Regions from separate parts of the Homo sapiens genome. Here region 1 is linked to region 2. The links are contacts of gene promoters, found by promoter capture Hi-C in human tissues and cell types (Jung and others, 2019). All regions are on one chromosome and are shown on one strand. The core of a region is centred on a gene start or on the middle of the fragment in contact, and the rest is flanking DNA. Distances in the headings are between cores, read along the strand shown.

What was found. The method cuts DNA at HindIII sites, captures the fragments that hold promoters and counts their contacts. A contact is called where the count stands out against the background at its distance.
Region 1: the fragment with the promoter of USP29 here is called in contact with the fragment with the promoter of ZNF776 in region 2 in 1 of the 25 tissues and cell types used here (aorta).

What each region holds. Positions count from the first base shown.
Region 1 is chr19:57,118,132-57,122,579 of GRCh38, reverse strand. USP29 (ubiquitin specific peptidase 29) reads right to left here and starts at 2,595. Exons shown (of 4, transcript NM_020903.3): 1 at 2,351-2,595; 2 at 106-255. The HindIII fragment of the contact is 14,839 bases long and covers 1-4,448 here.
Region 2 is chr19:57,745,405-57,749,371 of GRCh38, reverse strand. ZNF776 (zinc finger protein 776) reads right to left here and starts at 2,557. Exons shown (of 3, transcript NM_173632.4): 1 at 2,281-2,557. The coding sequence starts at 2,313. RefSeq lists an enhancer at 2,496-2,545. The HindIII fragment of the contact is 15,716 bases long and covers 1-3,967 here.

The sequences.
Region 1 (4,448 bases), core at 1,346-3,845, 630 kb after region 2:
CCTTCCAACACTCACACACACATACACACACACACACACACACACACACACACACACACACACACATCCCATCACCCAAACAAGCAAACCTTGAATGAAACTTACAGTTTGGAGAGCTGTTCTGGGTGAGTGGATGATAATTCTTTTTTCAGAAATGAGATCTTGCTATGTTGCCCAGGGTGGTCCCAAACTCCTGGCCTCAATCGATCCTCCAGCCTCAGCCTTCCAAAGTGCCTGGATTAGACTCCATAGCGCCTGGAGGAGAATGATGGAAGTTGAGTCTGACAGTGATTATGATGTTCCGACCTTTTATTCCCAGGTGGCTCCACCCATATCACGGGTTTTTCCAGGAAATACGTTTCTTGATTAACTTATCTCTGTGTAAGAGTTTAAAATATTTGTCTAGAAAAGGCTAGATAGTGACTTATTTTACTTTATTTCAATTGGTAATTAAAAACTTTTATTTAGAAATCATTGCAAATATACATAAGAATTGCAAGATTAGTAGAAATAACTTATATTCCCTTCACCCAAATTTACCAATTGTGTATATTTTGCCACATCTGTCTGCTTTCTCTCTCCCTCTTTTGATGTTCTATGTATCTATCTATCTATCTATCTATCTATTTTTTAATAGAGACAAGGTCTTGCTATGTTGCCCAGGTCTCGAACTCCTGACCTCCAGTAATCCACCCGCCTCAGCCTCCCAAAGTGCTGGGATTACAGGCTTGAGCCACCATGCCCAGACATGTTCAAGTCCCTTATATAACAGGATATACTTTTACTCCACTTAATGTTTACCTGTTTTCTTTGTAGTAACCGTGCTTTTTGTTTTATATATATATAATTATATATATATAACATATATGTATATATATAACATATGTAAGTACATATAACATATGTAAGTATATATAACATATGTAAGTATATATAACATATAAGCATATATAACATACATATAAGCATATATAACATATATAAGTATATATAACATACATATAAGTATATATATAACATATATAAGTATACATAGCATATATAAGTATATATAGCATATATAAGTATATATAACATATATAAGTATATATAACATATAAGTATGTATAACATGTATAAGTATATATAACATATATAAGTATATAACATAAGTATATATAACATATAAGTATGTATAACATATATAAGTATATATAACATATATAAGTATATAACATAAGTAGATATAACATATATAAGTATATATAATATATAAGTACATAACATATATAAGTATATAACATATATAAGTATATATAACATATATAAGTATATATATAACATATATATCCTACATTTTCAACACGTGTAACAAATGTGGATAGTTTCAAAAAGATCATTTTACGTTCTAGTAGTTACCCTGTTTGACCAAAGTGTAGTACTTTTATTTTTCTATTGCAGTGCATTTTCTTTTTTTTTTTTGGCGGGAGGTGAGGGAGCGGAGCGGGGATGGAGTCTCACTCTGTCACCGAGGCTGGAGTTTAATGGCGTGATCTCGGCTCACTGCAGCCTCTGCTTCCTGGGTTCAAGTGATTCTCCTGCCTAAGCCTCCTGAGTAGCTGGGATTACAGGAGCCCGCCACCACGCCTGGCTAATTTTTTGTATTTTTAGTAGAGACGGGGTTTCGCTATGTTGCCCAGGCAGTCTCGAACTCCTGATCCGCCCGCCTTGGCCTCCCAAAGTTCTGGAATTACAGGAGTGAGCCACCGTGCCCGGCCTTTTTTCTGTTTTTTTTTTTTTTTTTTTTTTTTTGAGACGGAGTCTCTCGCTCTGTCGCCCAGGCTGGAGTGCAGTGGTGTGATCTCGGCTCACTGCAACCTCCACCTCTGGGGTTCAAGTGATTCTCCTGCCTCAGCCTCCCCAGTAGCTGGGATTACAGGCACCCACCATCATGGCCAGCTAATTTTTGTATTTTTAGTAGAGACAGGGTTTCACCTTGTTGGTCAGGCTGGTCTCAAACTCCTGACCTCAGGTGATCTACCCGCCTCGGCCTCCCAAAGTGCTGGCATGACAGGCGTGAGCCACCGACCCAGCCCTTTTTTCTTTTATATAGTTTTTGAGACAGGGTCTTGCTCTGTTGCCCAGGCTGGAGTGCAGTGGTGCGATCATACCTCACTACACCCTCGATCCCCAAGGCTCAAGTCATCCTCCAACCTCTGCCTCCTGACTATCTGACACTACAGGCGTGGGTAATTTTTAAATTTTTTTGAGACATAGTCTCACTTTGTTGTCCAGGCTGGAGTGCAGTGGCATGATCTCAGCTAGCTAATTTTAAAATTTTTTGTAGAGATGGGTGGGGGGAGGGTCTCACTATGTTGCCCAGGCTGGTCTCCAACTCCTGGGCACAAGCGATCCTCCCGCCTCGGCCTCCCAAAGTGCTGGGATTACAGGCATGAGCCTGGCCAGCATTTTCTGTTTGAATGTTTTTACGTAACCGGAGTCGTCATGATGGAGGTACAGTTCCTTGGACTTCCGGCTCCCATGGCTCTGGAAATCTCAGCTCGGACCCGCCCCTTCCGGCGCCGACTCCCCTGATTCTCCTGGGAACAGAAGAGTTCTGGGCACAGCACGCTGCGTCTGCGCAGTGCCGGGCGCAGGCCTCCCGACCTACGGGTCTAGGTACGGGCTCTAGCGTGGCCGGGGCACATAGAGTTCCTGGCCTAGAGCTGGTGGGGCGTAACGGCAGGAGTTAGGGTTCAGAGAAAACCAGCCCAGGGGCGGGTTCATCCTGTTACCCATTCAGCCTCAAGCGAGGTGGGGTGTGGTAGGTGGGCTGGTGCTAGAAACCACGCCGGGAATTGTTAATAACAGTCATCCCGGCCGGGCGCGGTGGCTCACGCCTGTCATCCCAGCACTTTGGGAGGCCGAGGAGGGCGGATCACCTGAGGTCAGGAGTTTGATATTAGCCTGACCAACGTGGCGAAACCCCGTCTCTACTAAAAATACAAAAATCAGCCGGGCATGGTGGTGGGCGCCTGTAATCCCAGCTACTCGGGAGGCTGAGGCAGGAGAATCGCTTGAACCCGGGAGGCGGAGGTTGCAGTGAGCGGAGATGGCGCCACTACAATCCAGCCTGGGCGACAGAGCGAGACTCCGTCTCAAAACAACAACAAAACCCCCAAAAAAGCGGTCATCCTCCAGGTGGAAGAGACAGAAGAGAGGGTGCGGAAGAGACTTAAAAGTCTTAGGCCTTCAAGCGTGTTTGCCTCAGCCACCCGTGAATCCTACAGGAAAACTAAAACAACTCGGCCACAAGCCCCCAAGTCTTGGGGAAGCGGACGGTTTCCCAGCCGAGCTTTAGGAGGAGGCGCCGCGGGACCTCACGGGTGACGTCGTCCCCGGGGGTAGTTTGCGCAGAGGGTCGCTTTGGGCGCGCTTAGAGTCGCGTGGTGCCTGGGCCAGCGAAGCCCAGGTGCAGTCATTTGTGGCCCTGTCCCGGCGCGCGAGGGGCCAAGGCTGGTCGGGGGCCGGGTCCGCGCGGTAGCAACTGCGTCCTGCCAGCTTCCATCTCTCCCTCTGAGGGCCTGAGCGGCTGCCAGAGTCAGGTCTGCAGGCCGGGCGCTCACGCGTCTGTGCCCAGTGAGGCCCCAAGATGCTGGTGAGGCCTCGACCCTGACTGGTGTCCAGGCTCTTGACACTGTCGTGAGAAGGAATTCATGGATGAGCAGAACAAAGTGTGGAGATTCATTGCGACGGGAATAAGTACGTACTGAAGAAAGAAAAGTGCAGGCATACCACAGAGCATCACGCCCAGCGGGGTTTGGAGCTACCTTTAAATATTTATTTAACCAAGGGGTGGAATATTCATGAAGATTCTTGGAAAAAGGTAAACATTTCTTGGTACTGCGGTGCCACACATTTTTATACTAAATACGGGTGTTCCCCAGAGCTGTCACAGTGGGTGTGTGACTTAGTATGTTAATGAGCACATAATGAGAGGTCCTAGGTGAAACGGGTCGAATCCAGCACCATGTTGGGTCCAGTCGGCTTTAGCCAGCTTGGCCCACACCCTGGTTTTCAGAGTCTTATCCGCCCCTAGCTTACGCAGCGATTTCAACGGTTTCCTTTGCTAGTCATGTGAAACTGTTGCCTGGAATTTTCCGTTCTCCTGTGACCACCTTTATTATTCCTGTCTCAAGGGGCACCCCATTTGTGCCTATAAGGAGACTGCATTGGGACCAGGCTCCTGGCTGCTCATGGAGCCTCAGCCAGATGGTTGTGTGCCTGAGTCCTGTGTTCATTCCACAAACATGCAGCAAGGCTGCGTGGGTTGGAGCCCTGCCTCCAGCGCTTCCCTGCTGCATGACACTGGCAAGTTGCTTAAGCTCTCTGTACCCCATTTCCTCCTCAATAAGGCAGGGATGGTGATCGTACTAGTTCCAAAGGATTATTGTGAGAATTAACATAAT
Region 2 (3,967 bases), core at 1,308-3,807:
ATCCATGGTCTTATTCCACTTCTGTGCTACAATGGCTTACCCTTCAGCAACACGGACCAACTTCCATTCACCTAATACCATTGCCATTTAAAGAGCAGTCCTGGATGGGCATGGTGGTTCACACCTGTAATCCTAGCACTTTGGGAGGCTGAGGCAGGTGGATCATGAGGTCAGGAGTTCGAGACCAGCCTGGCCAATATGGTGAAATCACATCTCTACTAAAAATACAAAAAAAAATTAGTGGGGCGTGGTGGCACGCAACTGTATTCTCAGCTACCGGGAGGCTGAGGCAGGAGAATCACTTGAACCTGGGAGGTGGAGGTTGTAATGAGCCAAGATTGCGCCACTATACACCAGTACACCAGCCTGGGCGACAGAGTGAGACACCGTCTCAAAAAAAAAAAAAGTCCTGTTTTTAATCCATTTAAGGCCCAAGACCTACTGTCACAGATGACCATATTTCTCCCTGAGCATATTCAGCACGTGTAATGAAACCCCCCACACACTACCAAAGTCATCTCAAATCTTGATTGCACAGAGTGGTGAATAAGTACCACTCTGGCCTAAGTGTCATCTTCCCTCAATTTGACTACACTTCTGCATATATCTATTTCATGTCTATTCTCTCCTTGAAAGTCTATGTCCCCTGTCAAATTATGCTGACAGGTATACCCTACCATCATGGTCACTTACCTACCTCTCCAGTGTTTAGGAAGCCCAGTAACATTACCCAGGGACCCAAGCAACAGATGCAGTCCTCATCATTCAACCACTGCTTTCTGGTCCCCTAAAAGATTTACCACCAGAATCTGAAGTGTGTTCTCCTTAATGTGACCCATGGCTCACTCACCATAGCATACACATTAGCTACCATATATTAGATGTCTCCAGTGTCAATCCCTTTCCAGATACCCCAACCTGCATGTCCATAGCCATTTGATGCCTACACTTATTCGTCTCTGACTCTTCATATGGCCATAACAGTCATCCTGATATTTGCATAATATTCTAATTATGTTTATTACCAACATGCTCATCTCAGCTGATGCAGCTTCCATAGCTACAGCTACTAAGACCAAAAACCTCGGGATCCTGATTGCTCTCTTCATGCCCTTACTTTGTGTATTAGGAAACCTAGATGCTGTAACAAAATATCAACTTTGAATCCAGCCACATCTCCTTAGCCATGAATCTTAGTCTGTTAACCCTCACTTGGATTACGGCAAAAGCCTCAACTCTCATCTTATTTCCTCCTCTCTCAACCCCACAGTCTGTTCTCCACTGTACAGCCAGAGGAGACTACAGCCAGATGAAACTGTGGCAACATCACCTCCTCCCTCTGGTCAGTTTCACCTCTAAGCATTTCACATCCTGGTACTAACTCCTGGGTTAACCTTCCAAGTATGTTTATACTGGTTGACAGAAATGGGAATACCTCCATATATCCTGTGTCACAGACTTTGGATCCTGGGTTTAAGGTTCCTCCAGGGTTCCCATATCAAAAAACTTAAAAAAAAAAAAAAAAAGGTACCTAAGAATCCCAGGACATCCCAATCTAAAGAGCATGTGGATAGGAGTTAGGGCCAGTGAGGGAATAACACCCTCCGCTTCCCTGCGGAGGTTCTGCAAGTGCTTCTGCAGCCAGGAGTTCCTGAGAGGAGAGGCACAAGCTACAAGAATGTATCCCTGATGAGATTTGATAAGCTCAGGCCTCCCTGAACTCTTTCTTGGCCCTGTAACTAGGTAAACGCGAGTTGGTTGTCTGAACTGAGCGCCTCAGTACAAAATGTCATCTCTTAGCACCTATCTGATCTGTAGAGGTTGAACAAGAATTCAACCTCCCAGGGCCCAAAAGTCATCCCCTGTGTTCTTTTTCGACTGGACTTTGGGAAACCTTTAAAGCCTGGACATTGATCTTTTCCTTCCTTTGTTGGAAGCTGTCCATGGCTTCCAGCGTTCTCAGGGTGAATACACGGTCCTCAGCCTGCTCTTCCAGGAGGAGCTCTGCCTCACACTTTGCTCCCGACAGGTGCCTGTGGACCCTAGGTTACGATCCTCTCGGCTCAGTTCATCTCCAGGCCTTTGCCTGCACCGCTCCCTGTGCCTGTAGCTCTCCTGAGCGCATCCCGCGGGTGTCAAAAACGGGGGCCCATAGAGAGCGCCTCAGTGTCCCGACGCCGGGTTCAGGGTGTAAAACCTTGAGCAGGCGCCGCTTCCTCTCTGCTTTTGGACTTAGGTAAAGATGAGGTGACCTGAGGGCACGGAAGACGCCACAATTACCTGAGCCGGGGGCCTCAGCGCGGCCGCCGCCATCCGACTGGGTGGGGAAAGCGGGGTCGAAAGGAGGGGGCGAGCAGTGCAGGTACCCGGGCACGGTGGTCCCGATCCCGGCCTTGGTGCGGGTCACGCCTAGCGCCTTTAAGGAGCTGCAGAGCAGCCTCTGTGCAGTCGGGACAACGTCTCGTCTCCACCTTCTGGGTTCAGTCACTTCTACACGACCCAACACTCCGCGGTCTCTCACTGGAAAATACACCCAACACCAATCAAAATGGCCACTAGTAGAGGACGCCGGAAGTCCCACCTTTATACTGTTTCCGCGGAAACGCCTTTATTTTGAGCCCTCATTGGCTCTGACGCGCTGTCATTCGACGCAGAGATTTCTGGGTTATGTAGTTTCCTCAGGTTCCAAGACAGTTCCAAGGCGGTAAAGAAGGCCTTCTCAGAGGCGCTTGATTGCACAGAGTGGTGAATAAACACTACTCTGGCCTAAGTGTCATCTTCCCTCAATTTGACTATACTTCTGCATGTATCTATTTCATGTCTATTTTCTCCTTGAAAGTCTATATCCCCTGTCAAACTATGCTGTCAGGTATACCCTACCATCACGTTCACTTACTTGCAGGAAAGGCCCAGCTCCATCTCAGCGGCCTGTCCTTAAAGTGCATGTCCTTCTAGGGTAGAGGATAGTCTCACCTAGCCTTAGAACCCGTATTGAGATTTTTGGAGATTAGTGTCTGTAACTGATCACTCAAGTATTTGAAAAAATATTATTTTAGATTTTGGGGAACTCGAGCTCTCCGATGCTAAACTTATTATTTAGGATGCCCCCAAAGACTAAAAATCCAAATTATCATAACGTTTTGAACAGTCTTTCAGTCGCAAAATCCCGGTACTGGCAGCAGAGGCTGATAAACATTATTGTGTTATAAATTCACATGAATGCACTCTGAGGCATTAGAGTCAGTTTCTCAGTCTGTCAGGGACAAGAGAGAACTAATCCAGATAGGACAAGACAAGGAAGATAGAGGAGAAATGTTGTGTTCCCTAAAGCAGGAATACATGCTGAATCTCTGTCTGTGATTCCCACAGAAGACAACTCTCCTGCCTATAAAATCAATCATAGTGTCCAGTACATTGAGCAACACTTTTATCCACTTAGTATCCCTCGCTTGAGATTCCAACTTATATTCAATTAATTCTGGATTAATTTATCTAAGATTTATCAATCTTACAGGAAGACCAATGAAAGAAATGCTATTTTGGTAGTGATAAATGGCTGCAGTTTTCAAAGGTGGGGCACGTATGCAGAAGATGCTCTCCACCTGTTGATATTGGTTGTGTCTTAAATCCAGGAGTTCATGTTATTGCTGGGAAGTGGCTATTTTTTTTTTTTTGTATTAGATAAAACAGACTTTATTTATTTCTTTTCTTTTTTTTTTTTTGTGACTATTCTTTATTTCTGTTTCCATGGCAAGGAGTGTTTTGCCTAATAAATTAATGTTATGGATGGGATTACAGGCATGAGCCACCATACCTGGCTAATTTTGTATTTTTAGTAGAGACGGGGTTTCTCCATGTTGGTCAGGCTGGTCTCGAACTCTCAACCTCAGGTGATCCACCTGTCTCGGCCTCCCAAAGTGCTGGGATTAAAGGCATGAGCCACTGTACCCAGCCGCTCAGTTCTTAA